2 separate regions of the Homo sapiens genome follow, and region 1 is linked to region 2. The links are contacts of gene promoters, found by promoter capture Hi-C in human tissues and cell types (Jung and others, 2019). All regions are on one chromosome and are shown on one strand. The core of a region is centred on a gene start or on the middle of the fragment in contact, and the rest is flanking DNA. Distances in the headings are between cores, read along the strand shown. Region 1 overlaps ZC3H10 (zinc finger CCCH-type containing 10). Region 2 holds the start of DDIT3 (DNA damage inducible transcript 3).

Region 1 (4,849 bases), core at 730-3,229, 1.4 Mb before region 2:
GACTTGCAACGTGAGCCAGGCTTGGATAGATGGCATTTGTACTTCACCTGGTCATTCCCCTTTACTAAAAGTTTGTATCTTCTTTTACCACTTCTTTCCTTGATTGCTTCTATTATTCTGGGACTACCTCTCTTTAGAGGAGGAGGACCCTCTTACAGATTCTCTTGTAACTCTGGCCTCTGGTTTGGTTAGTTCATTTTAGGGAGATCTGAAGGCAAAGTCACAGTAGTGGGGTGGGGGTAGGTCAAGGCCAAAGGAATTAGGAAAGATTCCCTTATTCTCAAAGGGAACAATATGAAGTTTTCCTATTTCAGCAGCAGGGGGAGCCTGAACACCGCATAGGAAAGGCTTGGGAGGTCAGACACGTGGTAGCAGGGACTCCAGGTCTTACTGGGGGTGGAGAGAGGGGAGGGCTAGAACCAGGGCAGTGGACTGACATTCCAAAGCTCTCTTGGGAAATAGGAGACTTAAAAAGCTTTTATGGAGTCTATAAATAAAGAGGATCTTTCTGGGTTGAGGAATGGTGTGGTTGGATGTCAGTGGGATCTTCACATAGGGGAGTAGGAAGGGGGTGGGGAATGGGGAAAGGTCACTTGTTCCTGTGAAATTAACTCCTTCCCACTTGACCTTATCACAAATGGTTTGTCCTAGGAAATCTAGAAGTGGAGACTCTAACTTAGAACTCCTATCCTGAAATAGAAGGGGCTTACCTCTCTGCCGTTGACAGTGATGATGGCTGGGAGGGAATACTAAAATATGACAGGTTTTGAGACTCCCCTCAAGCTGGTGACACCAGTCTCTTCACCCAGGATTTCTTGGCTTCTAGAGATTTGATGTGTACAGAGCCCTTACCTGAGGAAAAGGAAAGGGGGTTAAGGAAGTTTTGTTACCAGTGTCCCATCTTCTACAGCCCTAGTAGCTCAGTAGCCCATCTTGGGCACTATTCCCAGTTTCCTTCCAGACTATTCAGATACTGACTGCAGTTTTAATTTCACTTCCACAACTTTAATAAGGTCAGCTCAAAAGGAAAGATGAATTCCAACACTATTTTTTCCCTGCTCCGTCCTGGGCCTATCCCTCCTCCGTTAGCCAGGCAAGTGTGAATCATTCTGACCCAGACCAGGTGCACAAAACCCTGGGAGGGGCTTTTGATGAGTCAGACATTTCAGCCAGAATTCTTATCCCTTAGATTCTCCATCTCTAAAGCCATTGCCCCTCTGGGCCACCTGCTTTATAGTCAGGAAGAGTGGGATCTCCCTGGAGGACTCCTGTTTGATACAGTTCTCCTCTTTTGTAGTGGTCACCAAGAGTGGCAAGATAAAGAAAACCCTGAGTTGGGCGGGACCAGGATGCCTGACCGGGACAGCTATGCCAACGGTACCGGGAGCAGCGGTGGAGGCCCTGGAGGTGGTGGCAGCGAGGAGGCCAGTGGGGCAGGGGTAGGCAGTGGCGGGGCCAGCTCAGATGCCATCTGTAGAGACTTCTTGAGGAATGTGTGCAAGCGAGGCAAGCGTTGCCGATATCGCCACCCAGACATGAGCGAGGTGTCCAACTTGGGGGTGAGCAAAAACGAGTTCATCTTCTGCCATGACTTCCAGAACAAGGAGTGTAGCCGCCCAAATTGCCGTTTCATCCATGGCTCCAAGGAGGATGAGGATGGCTATAAGAAGACAGGAGAGCTTCCCCCACGGCTGAGGCAGAAAGTAGCAGCTGGCCTTGGCCTTTCACCGGCTGACCTACCAAATGGCAAGGAGGAGGTCCCTATCTGCCGTGACTTTCTCAAGGGTGACTGTCAGAGAGGAGCCAAGTGCAAGTTCCGTCACCTGCAACGGGATTTTGAGTTTGATGCTCGGGGTGGAGGAGGCACTGGTGGGGGCTCAACAGGCTCAGTCCTCCCAGGACGACGTCATGATCTCTATGATATCTATGACCTTCCTGACAGGGGCTTTGAGGACCATGAGCCAGGCCCAAAACGCCGGCGAGGTGGATGCTGCCCCCCTGATGGCCCTCATTTTGAGTCATATGAATATAGTTTGGCTCCACCGCGAGGGGTGGAGTGCAGACTGCTAGAGGAGGAGAATGCCATGCTCAGGAAGCGGGTAGAGGAGTTAAAGAAGCAGGTCAGCAACCTGCTGGCCACCAATGAGGTACTACTGGAACAAAATGCTCAGTTCCGCAATCAGGCCAAGGTCATAACCCTGAGCTCCACTGCACCAGCGACTGAGCAGACTCTGGCCCCCACTGTGGGCACTGTTGCCACTTTTAACCATGGCATTGCCCAGACTCACACTACTCTCAGCAGCCAGGCTCTACAGCCTCGTCCAGTGTCCCAGCAAGAACTGGTGGCCCCTGCTGGAGCTCCAGCTGCTCCCCCAACTAATGCTGCACCTCCTGCTGCTCCACCACCCCCACCCCCACACTTGACCCCAGAGATCACGCCACTGTCAGCTGCCCTGGCTCAAACAATTGCCCAGGGAATGGCACCTCCACCTGTCTCCATGGCTCCTGTGGCTGTATCTGTGGCTCCTGTGGCCCCTGTGGCTGTATCGATGGCCCAACCCTTGGCAGGAATCACAATGAGCCACACCACCACTCCCATGGTGACTTACCCTATCGCTTCCCAGAGCATGCGCATCACGGCCATGCCACACTGATGGGGCTAATGGACACTCCCCTGGTATAGCCTCGCAGGGCTGGGGTCAGGGGGCCCTTGCCCACTCACCTAGCCTTCCCCATCCCTGTCTGAAGGGCTCCCTTGAGAACTAGGACAAGAGACTACAAGGAGTATGTCCTGAGGAGGGGTTGGGATGGTGTGTTTTCTCTCACCTCCCTTTTATGAGGGTCCTCTTGTCCATCTTCAAGCCTCACAGTGGGGGCTTGCAGAGGAGTGCAGACTGAAGCCAGCAGAGAGGAAGGACTGACTGAGGGGCTGTGTCCTCTTATGGGAATTTGGGAACATCCCTCGTCTTGTCCTCTCTTCTGCACAGCACAGGTTCCAGCACTGGTTTTAGAAGAAAAAAATACCCTGCCCAGAGGGAAAGCCAGGAAAGATTGGGAAGTGGGTGGTCAGGAGAGAAGGCCTGATAGGAGCCTTCAGACAATTTGGGTCCTAGTTGCTTGGGTTGGACAATACAGGAATTGCTTCTGGGCCCTGGGAAAGCTGGGACCATAGTGCTCCAGCCCAAAGACTAGGGGAGCATTCATTACCCTAGTTTGACCTGAAAATCCATAGGGCAGGGCCCACTACTTTCCAAAGAAATAAAAGAACAATTATTTTTAACAAATGGAGGCAGTGAAAACTTGCTTAGCTATTCTGTGTGGAAGATGGGAGCAGTAAATAGATCTCATGCCAAAATGGGATAAAGACCCCAGCCTCACATAGCTTTGGTAAGATGGATAGAAGCCAGTGAAGAAGGGTAGGGACCCAGAACAAGACCAAATGGGGCTTTGGGGAAGGCACTTTATGGGGTAAAAGCTTTGGAGCCACCCAGTCTAGTTTTAAAAATAGTCCCATCTGTTTCTGGTCTCTGTCTGTATGTGCTATTCCCAGGTTGCCTCAGTAACCAGGGCTCCTAGGGTCATTTAGCAGGGCAGGCAGTAAGGAGAGTGTATTTGCTGAAATGCGGATGGGATGTTACATAGTTGACAGATCCTTATTCAAACAGAGCAGGACAGGTGGAGTTGATGGCCATTGAGTTGATGGCAGTTGCCGCTCAGTTGATGGCAGTTAATGTCCCTCCTACCCCACCCCTTCAGTGGCCAGTTCCTGAAGCCTTCAAGGCTTGGGAGGTCTGGGAAAAGAGAGTCCTTCTAGGGACACAAGCCTCAGGGTCCATCCCTTTCCTCTGTCTCCACATAGGACCAGAAGTTTTAAATCTACTTAAGTCAGTAAGGCCAGGGGCCCCAATAGTCAAACCTCAGTTCCTCCTCAGCTCACGGCTGATGTAGGGAAAACAACTCAGGTGTCTAGTCTAATGGGACAGTAGATTTGGGGGTAGAGAGTGATCCTGGATTGTGTTCCCCCTCATCATGTCTCCTGCTACCTCTTGCTTTCTTGTCTGGTTGATCACTCAGGTCACATCTGGGATTGGAGATGGTGGGCTAGGTCAAGGCCAGTCATTAAAAAAAAAAGCCTAAAGACTAAAAGTGGGCTAACATTGTGGATTTTAGAAACAACACATTGATAAGCTTAATGTTTTTTGGGACACAATTTTTTTTTTTTTTTTTGAGATGGAGTCTTGCCCAGTCACCAGACCGGAGTGCAGTGGCGCAATCTCGGTTCACTGTAACCTGCGCCTCCTGGGTTCAAGCGATTCTCTTGCGTCAGCCTCCCGAGTAGCTGAGACTACAGGCGCCCGCCACCACGCCCGGCTAATTTTTTTATTTTTAGTAGAGACGGGGTTTCATCGTGTTGGCCAGAATGGTCTCTATCTCTCGTGATCCGCCCGCCTCAGCCTCCCAAAGTGCTGGGATTACAGGCATGAACCACCGTGCCCGGCAATTCTAGACTATTAAAAGAGATGGTTTAAGAGCATTTAGAGAAGAATGTAACCATAGATACCAACATGAATTCTCAGTCAAATCCTGACTGACTTTATTTCCTCCTTGCCAGGTTATCTCCAAAGAGGTAGATTTGGGAAATTTTAGACATTGTATGTCTTGTATGTATTTACTCCAGCTGAAGACCACCAAGAATACACCTGGTAATTGAGCAAGTTGGGTTTAATGCTCATTGCAGTGAGGGGGAGGGCTCACCATTGGGGATAACGTGGTGTGTCTCAGCATGAGGGTGTTAGGAACGACTTAGAGAACTTAGACTTTGGTTAAGTGATTTTGGGGAAGATTCAAG
Region 2 (4,533 bases), core at 823-3,322:
GAACTTCAGACTCTGCTGTCTACTGCCTACTTGCCATTTCTTTTTCAATGTCTAATAGGCACCTAAGACTATGTGCAAAGGCAAACTCTTGCTGATTTTCCCCTTCCAAGGTCATCCCCATCTCAGATGACAACTCTAGTTGCTTAAGCTAAAAACCTTGGTATCATCCTTCATTCCTCTTCTCTCACACCCTGCAATCCAAAGTACTAGCAAATTTTAACTCATTCCTTTTTTTCTGAGACGGGTCTCACTCTTTTTGCCCAGGCTGGAAGGCAGTGGCGCAATCGGCTCACTGCAACCTCCGCCTGCTGGGTTCAAGCGATTCTCCTGCTTCAGCCTCCGGAGTAGCTGGGATTACAGGCATGCACTGCCATGCCCGGCTAATTTTTGTATTTTTAGTAAAGATGGGATTTCACCATGTTGGCCAGGCTGGTCTTGAACTCCTGACCTCAGGTGATCCACCCACCTCTGGTCTCCCAAAGTGCTGGGATTACAGGTGTGAGCCACCATGCCCGGCCCTTAACTCATTCTTTAAAAATGAGTTTTTAAAACCTTTGCTTAGAAGAATCTAAACACTTCTAATTCCATTGTTTCCAATCTAGATCAATTCACTACCATCTCTAAATTACTGCAGAAACTTTCTGACTGCAGAAGGTCTTCCCATTTCTTCTCTTGCCACCCCTCCGCAACTCTATTCACCATACAGCAGCCTGAGTGAGCCTTTTAAAACAGGTCATTCCTCTGCTCAAACCCTCCAATGACTTCCTATTTCATGTCATGGAAGTCACTGAAGGGTTTTGAGTGGAGGAATTACCTAAGGTAATTCCTGACCACCTGATGTAACACTCTGACCTCCATCCTGAACATTCTCCATTCCTTTCTCTGCTTTAGCTTTCTCCGTGGCACTTATATTTTGTTTACTGTAGGCCTCCCACTGAGATGATTTTTTCCTCTTGCTCAAGGATGTACCCTGAGCCCCAAACTGTGTGGCACACAGTAGGTCCTCATTAAGTATTTGTTAAGAATGAATGGATAAACTCCCCCCAGTCTCTCTTATAGGGAAGGGGCAGAAGCAGAGTGGCAGCTGCTGATCCCTAGGGGCTAGAGATGCAATATTGCCCGAAGTATTTCTCTGCAGGGCTGTCCTCCCTGGGGAACCCTCCCTTGCCTTCCAGTGTGTGGGACTTGGCTTTCATCAGCAGTAGAGCCTCAGGTCAGAAGGCTGCAGAGCCAAACGGGGCTGGCCTGATGCAATGGTTACACAGAGATTAGCTGGGAGACAGGACCGGGTTAAAGAGGCAGGGACTAATCCCGAGGGAAGGACAATACCCTGGGGAGACCCCAAATGGCCTCCTACACTTAAGAGATCCAGGCTGCTCTCTTGTGCAGGAGGCCCAGAGACCTCTACGGCAAAAGGAAAACACACCACTCCCTGTCCATCGGCACCCCTCCCAAAGGCTTGTGTCTCCTCAAGGTTCCCCTATCCGCTGCAGGGTCCAGTAGCCCCAGCTACCAAGGTGGCCATGCTGACACCAGAGGCACTGAGACTGAGACAGAATTGGGGGTGGGGTAGGGAGAAGGCCCGCTGGTGGCGAAGCGGCGGAAACGGCCTGAGCGATGGTCACCCAGTCTTAGAGCGGGGGTGTGTCCTGCTGACCTGCCTCCCCGCGGACAGGCCTAACGATGAGGCCTGAAGTTGGCTACGGGAAAGAATGAATTTCCCAAGGGCAACCGAGGTCCCTTTGCCCAGCAGCACAGAGCAGGGCCCGTGTTCCGGCTCCGGGCAGGGGTGGAGAGACGCCGTCGTCCGAAGCAATAGGGGTTTGTAAGCACCACCCCAGAATAAGGGACTCTCCCCATTCCTCTCTCGGACGGTCCCTAACTTCACTGTGGAGGAGTGAGGCCGATCCTAAAGAGCGGACGCCCCAACTTTGAGGAGACGGGAGGGTAAAAGGTAGATGGGAATCAGTACTCGCCTCTCTCCTCAGGTTCCAGCTCTGATTTTGGCTCTGTCGCTGCCACCCGCTCATCTTTAACATGATACGCTCAGTGCCTTAGACTTAAGTCTCTGACCTCGGGAGCGCCTGGCTGTAATCTTTTACCATGGCCTTGCCCTCCTCTCAGGGGCGGGACCCCAAAACCTACCAATCAGAAAGTGGCACGCCGGCATTGGCCCCGCCCCGTCCCTCGCATCCGCCACTCAGGAGCCCCGCGGCACCGCCCCCGTCGCTCCCTCTCGCTAGGGGGTCGACGTAGTGTCGGACCCGGAAGTGGCTTTGGGTCACGAGGCTTCACGGAGGAGGTGGGTGAGTCATGCGCGCGCGCGGAGGGGAGTGTAGCGGGGGGGGAGGGGAGGAAAGGGGGGCGGGGATGATGCAATGTTTGGCAACCGGTGTCTGCACGCGCACGCGCAGGGGACACCGAGGGTGGTGGGAGGTGCGGAGGGTGGGGGAGAGGAGAGAGGGCGGGGCGCCAGCTCCCGGCGCCCAACGGCCCCAACGGCTATCAGCCTTGGTCGCCCCTAGTCGGTCGTGAGCCTCTTTGCCGCTTGTCTCCCCCAGAAGCTGCTGTTCCGCCCACCTAGCTTTACCCGCCGTTTTACCCCCACTATAAGGGACTCCCATATTTCTTGGCCCCTCCCAGCTAATGGGCACATAGGCCTTTTGAACTTTTCTTTTTAAAGTTGGTATCCATCCACTGGGATTGTCGACATCTCGAGTCTTCTTAAAGAGGTCTCCTGGCCGGGCTCAGTGGCTTACGCCTGTAATCCCAGCACTTTGGGAGGCTGAGGAGAGCGGATCACTTGAGGTCAGGAGTTCGAGATCAGCCTGACCAACATGGTGAAACCCCGTCTCTACTAAAAATACAAAAATTAGCCGGGTGTGGTGATGCGCGCCTGTAATCCCAGCTACTCTGGAGGCAGAGGCAGAAGAATCGCTTGAACCCTGGAGGCGGATGTTGCAGTGACCGAGATCGCGCCACTGCACTCCAGCCTGGGTGACAGAGCGAGACTACGTTTCACCAAAAACAAAAAACAAAACAAACAAACAAAAAAACGGGGGTGGTCTCCTGTTCTAGCCCCGTAAATCTCCCAAAAGGGGCCGAGGTACTGGAATCCCTTGGTAGTCATTTTCCGCTTCTCTCAGAACAGCGCCCTTGACTTTTACCTTGTAGTTGGTAAGCCCTCAGCCTGCCAGAAGTCATGTATTTTGCCCAGTGGACCCGATTCTGTTTGGCCACCTATTTTCCCCCACGGTACTCCTATGGCTTTCTCCAAGACCCTCTCTTGCTGTACCAGACAGCAAGTCCTGTGACTCCCTGTGTGAGGAGCGCGGCACAGGCCTGCCTCCTAGGTGTTCGGGTCGAGATTTACAGCGGAGTCTCATCCCGGGACGTGTGAGTGCACTTCAGCGCAGGACTGCCCTGGACTGGGGAGACCGGAGCCGCGATTTTAGACTCAACTCCCCATCACTTGCCAAGGGATCTTACCGTCCTTGTTTGTAAATTAAAGATAAAAGTTGTGAAGGTAAAATGAGAACCATGAACTTGGAGGCAACTTGACCAAAAGTAAAACGCACCACCCAGAATGCAAAGTATTTTTCTTGTGCCTTGAAAACAGAGGCCATGTGGTGGCCTGTTACATATCCTGTCATACCCTCATGGGGGCAGCCAGAGTTTAAGTAGAAACTGTCACAAGGCCGGTTGTGACTGGAGTGGTGTGGCAATGACAGGTCTTTGGTTAGGCTGCTCCGCTGCTCCACACCTCCATTTCCTCTCTGAAAATGGGGGTAGTGTGGAGGGTGGACCAGATGGTCTCCCCTGGCCTAAAGACAGACCAGGTTGTCAGTGACAGGCAGAGGTCATGTGACTTGACAGGCTGAGGTCGTGTTGTGACATGTTGACCTGGGGAGGCGGGTCAAGTCCCAGCACACTACCCGGGAAGCCTTTGGGGCGGGGCAGGGCAAGTCGCGACTTTCATCTTTCGGGGCCTGGCCCCTCCCGGACCTGGCATTCCTGGTTCCCGCAACAGACTGTGGCTTTGGAAGGGGCCCCTCCCTGAGGAGGGCTGGGATTGGCCACCAGTGGCCTGGGAAGAGGCGCAGATCCTTCCGCGGAGGGCGGGGGGGCCGCGTGGGGTGTTTGTTCTCTTGGGGATTAATGGGGGGTTGTGGGGGAGGGGTAGGCGCGCTCCCGCATGCGCACTGCAGCCCCTCCAGTTGGCTCGTCGCTGTCCGCTGGGCGGGGGCCCGGCCCCGCCCCTCTCCCGTCCGGGCAGCGGCGGAGGCGGCGGCTCCTGCGGCGGCGGCTGCGGCAGCGACGGCGGCGGCGGCAGCGGCAGCAGCCTGCGCAGTGCCTTCTGGGAACGGAATCCCCAGGGCTGCCCCTGGCCCCCATGGCGCATGCGCGGGAGGCCGCTCGGTGATCCGCGGCGGCGGCAGCGGCGCTTCCTGCTAGGACCGGCCGGGGCCGTACCGGAGGCTCGGGCTCCACCGACCCTCCTCCCACCCCCTCCCACTCACCCTCTGGGCCGCG

The links. Contacts are between HindIII fragments. The study calls those that stand out against the background at their distance.
Region 1: a contact is called between a fragment that was not itself captured here and the fragment with the promoter of DDIT3 in region 2, in 1 of the 25 tissues and cell types used here (spleen).

The regions. Positions count from the first base shown.
Region 1 is chr12:56,119,214-56,124,062 of GRCh38, forward strand. ZC3H10 (zinc finger CCCH-type containing 10) reads left to right here. Exons shown (of 3, transcript NM_032786.3): 3 at 1,298-4,849. The coding sequence starts at 1,350. The coding sequence ends at 2,654. Among named protein-coding and RNA genes, the nearest start is that of ZC3H10, 3.4 kb to the left of the region's middle. RefSeq lists an enhancer at 1,942-2,939. The HindIII fragment of the contact is 3,704 bases long and covers 128-3,831 here.
Region 2 is chr12:57,518,442-57,522,974 of GRCh38, forward strand. It overlaps DDIT3 (DNA damage inducible transcript 3), which reads right to left and starts at 2,073. Exons shown (of 4, transcript NM_004083.6): 1 at 1,977-2,073. LOC128125814 reads right to left here and starts at 2,039. Exons shown (of 2, transcript NM_001414991.1): 1 at 1,977-2,039. The coding sequence starts at 2,039. MBD6 (methyl-CpG binding domain protein 6) reads left to right here and starts at 4,383. Exons shown (of 13, transcript NM_052897.4): 1 at 4,383-4,533. MIR616 (microRNA 616) reads right to left here and starts at 818; the gene lies at 722-818. RefSeq lists enhancers at 909-1,870, 1,841-1,970, 1,845-3,044, 1,871-2,830, 2,831-3,791 and 4 more and silencers at 2,041-2,500, 4,215-4,533. The HindIII fragment of the contact is 17,458 bases long and covers 1-4,533 here.